2 separate regions of the Homo sapiens genome follow, and region 1 is linked to region 2. The links are contacts of gene promoters, found by promoter capture Hi-C in human tissues and cell types (Jung and others, 2019). All regions are on one chromosome and are shown on one strand. Each heading gives the region's core, a stretch centred on a gene start or on the middle of the fragment in contact. The rest is flanking DNA. Distances are from core to core; before and after follow the strand shown. Region 1 overlaps CACHD1 (cache domain containing 1). Region 2 holds the start of JAK1 (Janus kinase 1).

What was found. Contacts are between HindIII fragments. The study calls those that stand out against the background at their distance.
Region 1: a contact is called between a fragment that was not itself captured here and the fragment with the promoter of JAK1 in region 2, in 1 of the 25 tissues and cell types used here (H1 embryonic stem cells).

The regions. Positions count from the first base shown.
Region 1 is chr1:64,680,390-64,686,523 of GRCh38, reverse strand. It overlaps CACHD1 (cache domain containing 1), which reads right to left. Exons shown (of 27, transcript NM_020925.4): 25 at 5,189-5,266; 26 at 4,418-4,519. Among named protein-coding and RNA genes, the nearest start is that of RAVER2, 62 kb to the left of the region's middle. The HindIII fragment of the contact is 5,949 bases long and covers 273-6,134 here.
Region 2 is chr1:64,965,167-64,971,805 of GRCh38, reverse strand. It overlaps JAK1 (Janus kinase 1), which reads left to right and starts at 5,257. Exons shown (of 25, transcript NM_002227.4): 1 at 5,257-5,473. RefSeq lists a silencer at 5,033-5,912. The HindIII fragment of the contact is 20,952 bases long and covers 1-6,639 here.

The DNA of each region.
Region 1 (6,134 bases), core at 1,998-4,497, 280 kb after region 2:
TCATTCTAAGTGGTCTTAGACTATGGGCCAAAATGATTCTACTTTCAAAAAACATTCTCAATTGGAGTAGTTTTTCTTAAGATACAACAATTAAAATTAGATTCTTTTGAAAAACGAAATTCTGTTGGCCACATAAAATATTTCTAAATAAAAATACACCCTAAAGTTTCTAAGTTTAGTTTGGTAACATTCAATTTTCATTCAATTCTAGGATCACAACTCTGAACTCATACCATGAGAGCCGAGGCCGTTGTGTAGTCATGTATTTATAGACTTAATTCTTTTGAGTTTCCTTTTGTGTAACACACTCAAGGATTCACATGGAAATACGCTTATCAGGGAGCAGAGAATCATGACGCCACAATCCTACCAGTTCAAGGGCCAGTCAATGCCATGTTCCTCCATGGGGTTTCCCATAATTTACTCGCAGATAAAAGTGAACTCTCACCCCTTTCCTTCTTTGTTTTACTCTTTTAAGGAAGCTGTCATATTCCACCTTTTATCAAGCATATGAATACATGCATTCATTTATAGCTTCCTCCTAGACTGTAAATTTCTTCAGGGCAGGGTGGGCACAGAGGTAGGGAGGTCAACCCTGAGCACCGTGCCTATCATATGTCATTTCATTTCATCCTCATTGCAACTCCACCCAGCATTTTTTTTTTCTTTTTTTTTTGAGACAGCCCTGTCTCAAAGAGCTCAAAGAGTTCTTGGCTAGAGTGCAGTGGTGCTAACATGGCTCACTGCAACCTTGACCTCCTGGGCTCAAGTGATCTTCCCACCTCAGTCTCCCGAGTAGCTGGGACTACAGGCACGTACCACCATGCCTGGCTAATTTTTTTATTTTGTAGAGACAGGGTCTCACCATATTGCCCAGACTGCAGTAAAAATTTTTAATCCTACCTTAAGTGTTAGGAAACTCAGGTCTAAGGTAGCTCACTAAGGTCTCAACAGCTTGTGGAAAAAAAAGGGGGAGAAGTAGGCTTCAAAGTGAACTGGCTTTACCCTATCTCCTAAGCTCTTCCTCTACACCAAGCTGTCTTGAGGAAGTAACAACTCCCATCTGTAGCCCCCTCCACCTCCACAGTGTACAAGGGTACAGTCATGTCTTGTGTAATGACAGAGATACATTATGAGAAATGTGTCCTTAGGTAATTTCATCATTGCACAAATGTCACAGAGTGTACTTTCACAAACCTAGATGATACAGCCTACTACACACCTCGGCTATATGGCATAGCCTATTCTTCTAGGCTACAAACCTGTGCCACATGTTACTGCACTGAATACTGTAGGCAACTAAAACACAATTGTACACAATACTGTAGGTAATACTATAGGTATTTATATATCTAAACATAGAAGAGGTACCAGAAAAATACCGTATAAAAGATTTTTTAAAATGGTACACCTGTGGCCGGGCGCAGTGGCTCACGCCTGTAATCTCAACACATTGCGAGGCTGGGGTGGGCGGATCACCTGAGGTTGGGAGTTCGAGACCAGCCTGACCAACATGGAAAAACCCAGTCTCTTCCAAAAATACAAAATTAGCCGGGCATGGTGGCATGTGCCTGTAATCCCAGTTACTTGGGAGGCTGAAGCAGGAGAATCGCTTGAACCCAGGAGGTGGAGGTTGTGGTGAGCCGAGATCGCACCATTGCACTCCAGCCTGGGCGACAAGAGCAAAACTCTGTCTCAAAACAAAAAACAAAAAACAAAAAACAAAAAAGGTACACCTATATAGAGCACTTACCATAAATGGAGCTTGCAGGATTGGTAGTTGTTCTGTGTGAGCCAGTGAGTGACTGGTGAGTGAATGTGAAGGCCTAGGACATCAGTGTACACTACTGTAGACTTTATAAACACTATATATTTAGGCTACTCTAAATTTATTAAACTTTTTTCTTTCTTCAATAATAAACCTTTGCTTACTGTAACTTTTTTGCTTTATAAACTTTTAAACTTTTAAAACTTTTTGACTATTTTGTAATAACAGGTTAAAATACAGACACATTGTACAGCTGTGCAAAAATATTTCCTTTTGTTATATCCTTATTCTATAAGCTTTTTTCTAGTTTAAAAATTTTTACATTTCACTTTTTAAACTCCTTCATTAAAAAACTAAGACACAGTGTCTCCAAAAAAAAAAAAAAAAAAAAAGAAGAAGAAGAAGAAGAAAAAACAAAGAAAATCCACGAATATGACTAAATGGCGATAAAATACCAAAAAAAATTTTTACCACAAATGAGATCCTTGATATGTAAGGAATGATACAGTTTTGAAGTGCAGTGAGCTGAGATCGCACCTTTGCACTCCAGCCTGGGTGACAAGAGCGAGACTCCGTCTCAAAAAATAAAGCACACACACAAAAAAACTAAGACACAAACACACACATTAGCCCAGGCCTACACAGGGTCAGGATCATCAAGATATCACTAGGCAATAGAAATTTTTCAGCTCCATTATAATCTCATGGGACCCCTGTAGTATATGCGAAGTGTTGTTATGCAGTGCATAACTGTGCATAGCAGATGCCAATACATCCACCAAATAGGAGAGTAGAGCATACACAGATGAGCAAGAAGTGTGCCAACAAAACAATTAGATTTCCTTGTTTAATGGGTGTATGTAGCTTTGCCTCTAGGCATCACAGGGACATTAACTCAATGTCACCATTTTTAGTGACCCACGTACTGGTTCAAAGGATGCCAACACGCATTTAAATTCTATTGATTTTATGATGCATTTGGAATATGGGGAGTGTCAATGCCTTCCCCTTCTTTTGGTGTTGCATTCTGTCTGCATGAGAAACTATTTTTCATACCTTGGGGATAACATGGATCCAATTATGGAGAAAAATGAAAGGAACCAAGCCCTTAGCTGGATGCCTTAGTGTTCAGATACTGACACTGCACCCTTCCTTTTATCTAAGCTGTTGCTTCATATGCCATTTTACTGAGACAATGGGAGAGGCTAATGGAACGTCATAAACATCACTCAGAATCCTAATTTGGTATTGATGCAATTCCTATTGAGGAACAGAGAGAAAAAGGATTCAGTATTTCAGAGAGAGAAAAGGATTCAGTATTTCTGCTGAATAAGAAATTATTTCTGTTGAACTTTAGTAGCCTCAAACCTGTTTTATTATTCAAACGAGAAGGCACAGAACTGCCTGGCAGCAGGAATTTATGCAAGTTCAAAGGTTTGTAGAGAAAAAAGCAAAAAAGTCAAAGAAACTGAGAAATTTAAGTTCTGCTGTGGTTCTCCATAGAAACCTGAAGTTTCTATTTAGTTGGTGGGAATAATGTCATTCAAAGCCCAAATTAACAGTCTCCAATTTATAAAACAGAGCTTTAGCTGCTCTTATTTGCCAAAGGGAGTTTGAAGACCTGGCTGTAGTGTAAATGGTGACGTTGGTTGCTCTGAGGAGTATCTATTTTTGCATTTTTTAGTGTAGATACAGGGAATACAAGGTTTGAGGACTTTTTTTTTCCAGGATAGGTGTGGAAAAAGCTAAGTCAAAAAGGCTTAAATACACTATTTATGTATTTAAAAAAGGACTTGATTCTAGGAGGAAAATACAGATTTCTGGAAAATTAAACAGCTATCTTAAAAAAAAAAAAAGATTTTACAATGGCAGGAAAAACACTACCCACATCTGTTATATTTTTGTGGAACTGTGGCAGTGATGCTTATAGACTGGGATACATCTGCTGTTCTTTGCAACAATGAGCGATATGGACTCTGAGAAGGAGAGAAGCCATGTGGGATGGCCAAGTCTTTGGCAGAGTAGGTGGATTTCATAAGTTACCTAGCACTCGGCGCCTCTTCATGATTTGGCCTTGACCCTTCCTGAGCATCTTACAGGCACTTACACAACTCCATGACTTTGTAAACACTGGTCCTTTGGCCTCTAATATTCTTTGCCCCTACCTTTTCTTTAATCACCCCCTCAAGGCTCAGTGCAAATGTTGCTTCTTGCTTCTTTGGTGAAGCCTTCTCTGAGCTCCCCAGACCATGCCAGAGGTCAGGGCAAGAGAATGCTGGAGGACAGCACAGATTCTTGTCATGCCCCAAGGGGACATGACTGAAAAAGCCCTTAAAGATCCTGCTGTTTGCCAGCCAACACTGGAGAGCGGGACCTAAGAGGATGCTGATTTTATGGAAAAGCAAGTGGGATGGCAAGCAGGCTCCATTTAAACAATATGAATCCTTCTGTATGGAGAAAAACTTGAAAGCAATCTGTGTGCCCAGAGGAGTGCTGAGACATAAGTAAAACTGTCCTCGGGCTCTTATAAACCAGTGGCATGCTGGGGTGTGTCTTTTTGGAAAACCATGTCAAAATAGGGTGTGAGCATCATCCCACAGGAGTACATGAGGTTCCTTGGGTCTTCAAATGCAGGAAGCTAGACCTTACCATGATCACTTTCTGTTCCTGATCGACCCCAGTAGCGGCGCCTTCTTTCTGGACTGTGTGCATGTCGTTCGATGACCGCAGCTATAAACCGAGTGTTGCTGACTGTAGGAAGCCAAGGACAGTTAATGTCACTCTTATGCCAGTATCTCCATTGTTTCAAACACATTTGCTCTGAGAGGGCTCATTTACATGCTGGGAGAATTCTCTTTGGAAAGCCAGAATAAATCATTTTTTAAACAATTCTGGGGATTGGGGTGCTGATTTTAGAACTGGTGCAGTGAGAGGTATTTAATTATATATCTCCAACGTGCATCAGGAAGCTATGGTCTAGTAGCTGAAGGCCAGGGTGTCTTAACACTAATGGAAATCTCTTTTGATAAAGAAAATGCTCTTTTTTCCTCCCTGAGTTGTACATACTAGTTAAGGGATTTTTTAAAAAATGCATACCTGAAACTTCCTTTTCTAAAATACTATGGTTGGAAAATAATGAGCAAGAGAAACAAAGGAAAGGGTGAGCTGTTTTAGGCCAACACACTTAATGCAAAAAAAAAAAAAAAAAAAAAAACACAATAAAATCTTTTGAGATTCTCTAAAACAAAGACCTACACGTACTCCTAACAAAAAAGGATGGAAAAAAACAACTAAAAAAACCCAGCCACCGTGTCAAAGCTTCTTAAATTTTAATACAAGCCAAAAGGATATAAGAAAGAATATTTATTCTGGATTAGCCTCCTGCTGACACATTCTGCAGCAAGGCAGCTGAATACTCACTGATGCCTCTGTCTTCGTGGCTGTCGTCGTCCCTTTCATCTCTGTCATTCTCCAGGTTGGACATACGCACTGACATTTCTACCCATCATTAAAAAGAGAGAAACATGACTATTTAATCAAACAAAATCACCCGCTTTAATACCCTGCTGAGCACTTGTTTGATGGCTGGGTGACAGCATTCCATCAAGAATGAATCCCATCTTAGAAGGGAATGAACTGATGCCCCATGTTTTTTTAAAGGAGGAGGGAGCAGGAATCCAAACAAGAAGAACAAGTAATCAAGAGACATCTGAAATTCATTTCTGAGAAAGGAGGAGAAAAGAAGTTGATTGAGGCCAACAAATCTTTAATCCTCTACTAAAGTACTGAAACAGAAGGAAAGGGATTGAAAAATGACTGACTGTGTTGGTGAAATGGTGCAACAAAAGCCTCCAAAAGGCCAGGCATAAGCTAACACTGGATGACGGTCATCCTCAGTCTAGCTGAATCTCACCAAGGGAAGCACATGGTGATTATCCCTGTTACTAAATCAGGTAACATTACTCCATGATTCCCCTTCAGGCTTGTGGCCATAGTGAAATGCTTTAACATCAACCTGTCATTACAGCTGTTAGAGTGAGCTAAGTGGCCAGGAAGATGAGTTAACTTCACCTCCAAAAAGGTCAGGTCAACACATCCCCGGGGACTGGGGTTTTAGGAAGGATGGAGATGGCCATTAAACAGTTTTGTTCCCTGCAAACAGAGTACAGATACTGCACTTAAACAGAGTATAGATACTGCACGTGGTATTGAGGCCATGATTATAGGTGAATCATTTTGTACTTGGCTTCGATGACTTTTTTTTTTTTCAGATGGAGTCTCACTCTTTCGCCCAGAATGGAATGCAATGGCGCGATCTTGGCTCACTGTAGCTTCCATCTCCTGGGTTCAAGCGATTCTCCTGCCT
Region 2 (6,639 bases), core at 4,008-6,507:
GGGTGGATCACTTGAGGTCAGGCGTTTGAGACCAGCCTGGCCAACATAGCGAAACCCTGTCTCTACTAAAAATACAAAAATTAGCTAGGCATGTTGGCACGTGCCTGTAATCCCAGCTACTTGGGAGGTTGAGGCAGGAGAATCGCTTGAACTCGGGAGGCAGAGTTTGCAGTGAGCCGAGATCACGCCACTGTACTCGAGCCTGGGCGACAGAGTGAAACTCCATCTCAAAAAAAAAAAAAAGTATGACAGAGAAACCTGGGCAACATGATGAAACCGCGTCTCTGCAAAAAGCAGCCAAGTGTGATGGCACGCACCTGTAGTCCCTGCTACTCAGGAGGCTGAGGCAGGAGGATCGATTGAGGCTGGGAGGTCAAGACTGCAGTGACCTGTGATTGTGCCACTGCACTCCAAAGCAAGACTCTGACTCAAAAAAAAATTATTTGCATGAAAAACTTCATTCGTTATGAAGACTTGTATAGAAACATTGAAATACACTTATGAATTACAATTAAGTTTAAGGAACAGTTTACAAAGTGACATGTATGCCATGACTATATTTATATGAAAAATATGCCCCGTGGAAAAAGATAATGGGAAGAAAACATATAATATGGTGACTGATTTATATCAGGTTTGCAAGATTACAGTCAATTTTTTCTCCAGATTCCAATTTTTGGAAACAAATTTCATGATTTGTACAATGGGGATTTAGTTTAGTTTAGTGTTGTTGAAAAAACATCATTGTTTGCATCTAACATATTTTCCCATTGTTATCTAAGCAATAGCTTTTGCAGAGGAAGACTGATGGGGACATATTCTTTTGATGAAGATTTATGTGTGAAACTGTGTGTATGATTGATGGTTGGGTGGTTGTTATTAATTTTCTAATAAGAGGCTTCTACACTGCATTTGGTTTAATTAAATTTAGATGTATGTCATGGATTGCATGTTAGAAGGAAATATTTGTATTCTTTTGTTTTACACTATTGTGTCTCTCCTATATATCATATATTCTACTGAGTGGCATTTTTTTTTTTTTTTGAGACAGAGTCTCTCTGTCGTCTAGGCTGGAGTGCAGTGGTGTGCTCTAGGCTCACTGCAACCTCCGCCTCCCAGGTTCAAGCGGTTCTCGTGCCTCAGCCTCTCGAGTAGCTGGGACTACAGGTGCATGCCACCACGCCTGGCTAATTTTTGTATTTTTTTGTATTTTTAGTAGAGACAGTTTTGCCATGTTGGCCAGGCTTGTCTTGAACTCCTGACGTCAGGTGATCCACCTGCCTTGGCCTCCCAAAGTGCTGGGATTGCAGGATTACAGGCATGAACCACTGCACCCGGCCCTTTTTGTTTTGTTTTGTTTTTTTGAGATGGAATTTTTCTCTTGTTGCCCAGGCTGGAGTGCAGTGGTGCCATCTTGGCTCACTGCAGCCTCTGCCTTCCGGGTTCAAGCTATTTTCCTGCCTCAGCCTCCCGAGAAGCTGGAATTACAGGTGCCCACCACCATGCCCAACTAATTTTTTGTATTTTTAGTAGAGACGGGGTTTCACCATGTTGGCCAGGCTGGTTTTGAACTCCTGGCCTCAAGCAATCCACCCCGTCTTGGCCTCCCAAAGTGCTAGGATTACAGGTGTGAGCCACTGTGCCCGGCCGTTTTTTTTTTTTTTTTTTTTTGAGACAGGGTCTCACTCTGTTTCCCAGGCTTCAGTGCAGTGGCACCATACTAGCTCACTGCAGCCTTGATCTCCTGGGCTCAAGTGATCCTTCCACCTCGACTCCTGAGTAGCTGGGACCACAGGCATGTGCCACCACACTCAGTTATTTTTTGTATTTTTTGTAGATACAGGGTTTTGCCATGTTGCGCAAGCTGGTCTCATTTTGAACTCCTGAACCCATTTTGAACTCCTGAACTCCCAAAATGCTGGGATTACAGGTCTAAGCCACCACGCCTGGCTCAGTGACTGTTTAAAACTTTCCTCTTCTCAAACATAAAACTGAATTTCTTATCCTGTTTAGTCGGTGGCATCCAGTCGGTGGCATCCTTGGTCAGCTTATTAACCAATTCAGAAAATTTGGGAGTCATGCGAGATTCCTCTCTCTGCCTCAGTAGCCACATCTAATCAGTCACCAAGCACTGTCCATTCTATCTCCTCAGGCCTTTTGCATCTTCCTCAGTATCCTTCCCCAGTCCACTGCCTTAGATAGGCTGTCATCTCTCGCAGCTTGCAGTTTTACAATGACATGTAATTAATCTCCTTGCCCTCCAATTCATCTTCCACATTATCCCTAGACTAGTGGTTCTCAGTGGGGTGTGATTTTGCACCCCAGGGGACATTTGGCAACGTCTGAAGACATTTTTGGAAGTCACAGCTGGGAAAGGAGGAGGGTGGGGAGTTGCGGGGGGGTGTGATGGGGGAACAAGAGGACTTGCTACTAGCACCTAGTAGTCAGAGGTCAGAGATGCTGCTAAACATCCTACAATGCACAGGACACCCCCACTACAACAAGAATTTTCCAGCCCACAATGTCAATAGTGCTGAGGTTGAGAGCCCTTGCCCTAGGGTGATTCTTCTAAAACAAAAACCTTAAATCTCTCAAAAAAAAAAACCCACTATTTTATTTTAGGCAAAAGTTTTTGCATGGGATTCAACTTTTCTCATTCCCCAGTCACACAGCATATACTTATTTTTTTTTTTTAAGAGAAGGGGTCTCACTCTGTTGCCCAGGCTAAAGTGCAGTGGTGTGATCCTAGCTCACTGCAGCCTCAAACTCCTGGGCTCAAGTGATCCTCCAGCATCAGCCTCCCAAGTAGTCGGAAATACAGGCATGTGCCACCATGCCCAGCTAGTTTACCTTTTTTTTTTTTTTTTTTTTTTTGAGAGGGAGTCTCGCTCTGTCGCCCAGGCTGGAGTGCAGTGGCACAATCTCAGCTCACTGCAAACTCTGCCTCCCGGCTTCAAGCGATTCTTGTGCCTCAGTCTCCCAAGTAGCTGAGATTACAGGTTCCCGCCACCACGTCCAGCTAATTTTTGTATTTTTAGTAGAGATGGGGTTTCGCCATGTTGGCCAGGCTGGTCTCAAACTCCTGACCTCAAGTGATTGGCCCACCTCGGCCTCCCAAAGTGCTGGGATTACAGGCGTGAGCCACTGCACCTGGCCTTTGTTTGTTTGTTTGTTTTTATTTTAGAGACAGGGTCTTGCTGTGTTGCCCAAGTTGGTGTCAAACTCCTGGCCTCAAGCAGTCCTCCTGCCTCAGCCTCCCAAAGTGCTGAGATTACAGGCATGAGCCGCCACACCCAGCCAGCATATACTATTACTGCCTGAATATGCCGCTACCTCCTGACTCCTGCCTCCTGTCGGCTACTTGAAGCTTATTCTGACTTCCTCAGACTCGGCTGGGTGACTGTCTTCTGTGATCACCATTACAGGACCGGGAATCACTGAATTGTTACTTGCCTGTCTCTCTGACTGCATTGAGCATTCAGAGGTCAGGAACCTAGTCTATTTTTTTTTTCTCTGAATCTTCATCACCTAGCACAATGTCTGTTATAGACGAACAGATCTAAACTGAATCCAGGCCCTCTCCCCCTGATTCCACCCTGTGAACAGCCAGATTCGTTCGTGGGCACAATGGGTTCACTGCTGCCTTCCTGACTTTCCTTTTTCTTTACATCCTCACCTGAAATGCTGTTCTTTCACGTCTCTGTCTCCCTTCATGTCAGTCTCACCTGTTCTTTATGGTCCAGCTCAATAAAAACCCCTACCACTTCCTGAGCCCATGCCATGTGGGCTATATTATCATAGTTCACCTTCAGCAAAACCCCTTTAAGGAAGGCATTATCCCTATTTAACAGGTGAAGAAAATGATGCAAACAGCCCTGAGGTGTTGTTCAGAGTGTGGCAGATGAGACAAGACTTGCACACAAACACCCACAATGCAGGCAACCCGGGTTGCCTCCCTGTCTGCTCTGATCTCCGGTCTTCTTTGGTCCTCTTTTCTGTACTTCTGGAAGGCACTTTGGAGATCCTTTTGTCTGCTGCTCCACTGAGAATTGAGTCAACTAAGAATTGTTTAGGGCAACACAGGTGGTTACTGGTGGAGGCCAAACCTCAAATTCAGTAGTCTAATTCGGATGCTTGACTTTATTCCACACCCAGAATATCTTGCTCAGTTTCAGTTGCAGTAACTCAAGTGATCAGGAACTGTCCAGCAGGGTTAGTGAAGTCAGCACAGGTGGGGCAGCCTCTGTCCACAGCCCTGAAGCTGCAGAATTCTGACCGTGCACGGCCTCGGAGGATTTTCATCCAGGGATTGTCAGGGGGAAGTCGCTGGAGTGTTTTAAGCATGGGAGTGTGTGGAACAGATTTGAATTTTTAAAAGTTCATTGTAGAGAATTAATTGGGGGCTGGAGTGAATGGAGTGACGATTTAAGAGATGTTCGTGGTCCCTTCAGGTGAGAGATGGTGGCAGCTCGGACCGTGTTGCCGGAACATAGACAAGTGAACTGATTGGAGAGATACCTAAGGAAATAAAATTGTTAGGATTTGTCCGTGGACTGCCTACGAAGTATGAATCTTGGCTACAGTGTGACCTTGATTAAGACACTAAAGACTTAATTTGTTCCTCATGGATAAGATGATGCTACTACTTTGAGAGGTTATTAGTAAAAAATGAAAAGCGCTGTACATGCATTAGGTATCAGTGAATGTAGTTCTAATTCCTATTATGCATATGCTTTTTTTTTTTTCGTAAAGAGCTTTTAAAATACGGAATGGGTTGGATCTGCAGTAGCTTGTCCAAGCTGGGGGCTGTATTGTTAAATTCTTTTTAGTCTAGTGCTCCACTAGCTCCTCTCCTACTGAGCTGGGGTAAGAAGCGGAGCGTATACGGAGGAGGCGGGATGCATTTCTGCATCGAGCGCACAAAGGTGTGGCGGAGGGGGCTCCAGAGCTGGGAGGGGTCAATCTACGGGCGAATCCTGGCAATTTTACTCCCCGCGATAGATGACCTCGCGTCCTAGATGAGTTTCTAGATTCTAGAATCTAGAGGACGCGGTGAACAGAGACGAGTGGGGGCAGCTTCGCGAGCGAAGCCGGATGGGGGCGGGGCGGGTAGGCCGGAGGCGCAGAGTCTCCGCCGGGACCGCGACCCCGCCCCGCTTTCCGGGGCTGCCGCTGGTGACGTCGCGAGGGGGTGGGCCCGGCGGCCACGGGGGTGGGGCCGGCCGCGGGGCGGGGCGGGGCGGGACGGGAGGCGGTGCGTCGCTGAGCGCAGGCCGCGGCGGCCGCGGAGTATCCTGGAGCTGCAGACAGTGCGGGCCTGCGCCCAGTCCCGGCTGTCCTCGCCGCGACCCCTCCTCAGCCCTGGGCGCGCGCACGCTGGGGCCCCGCGGGGCTGGCCGCCTAGCGAGCCTGCCGGTCGACCCCAGCCAGCGCAGCGACGGGGCGCTGCCTGGCCCAGGCGCACACGGAAGTGGTGAGTGTCACCGGGGGAGGTGGAGGAGCCGGGGCGGCCGCGGTCGGCAGGCGAGGGGCGCGCAGCCCGGACTGGCCGGAGGCGCGGCCACCGCTCTTGGTCGGTCCTTAGGCTGCGCGGCCCGGGCTGCTCCTGAGCGCAGCTCAGGACCCCGCGGCTCGGGCGGGGAAGGCGGGGATTTCCAGCCCCGCGGAGCCGGCGGGCGGCGAGGAGGTCGCCGGGCGGGGGCCCCCGGCCGGGAGAAGAGCGGTTAAGCCAGGCCGCCCCCTCCCCCAGCGCGCACGGCAAGTTTTCATAAACAAGCCCGGAGCGCGCTGTCTGACATCCTGTTTATACCACCCCGAGATACAGGCGCGGGCTGGAGGGCTGACGTCCCTAGCTCCTTGTACCGCGAACTTGACCGCCAGCTCCCGGCCGGGGTGGCAGCGCAGAAAGGTTTTCTTCTTCGGCCCCAGGAAGGAGGCTGAGGGTCTTAGCTTTTTTCCTTCCTTGCGGTCTCAGCGAGGGAAAGTTTCTGGGATTTGGAGCTGGGTGTTGGGCGTCCGCGAACTCGGGAAACGCCCCCTCCCCTCTTAGGTTCTGTTAGGAACCAGGCCTCAGGTAGCCAGCGAGAAGTGGGAAAGGAGACCCTGGGCGAGAGGACCAGGGAAGGGGAACAGTGGGAGAGAACTACCCGGGGAATTGCGAATCCCACTGGAAAGGGACTGATTAACCGAAACTGGGGCTGGTCTCTGGCTCCCTCACTCCAACTCCATCCGCGCATCGTCGGCGACCGGGAGCATCGGAGGACTAATAGACACTCCTCCAAAGTCACTCCCCAGGGTCCCTGGGATGTGGGCTCCTTGGATGTGTGTTTACCACGGAACTTCTAGATAAAAGATGCGATGTTTGCCAGGTGTTTGTGCACACGTTTTTTGGAGGGTTTGCACTCCATGATTTCCTGTGTGTTCCTGGGGAAGGGGACCCCGTCCTTCCTGCCACTCTTCTTACTACGTGGCTGTGAGCTGCCTTCTGCCCCTGGTTGAGTACATCGCTATACATGTCATTGACACTTTTCCCCCCAAGTCATAGGGTTTTTCTCTCACTGGCAGGAATTTACAGTGGTATAAAATTGTCATTACTTCTTTCAGGGAGTAAAACATGGGTAGTTAAGTGATGAGAATAAT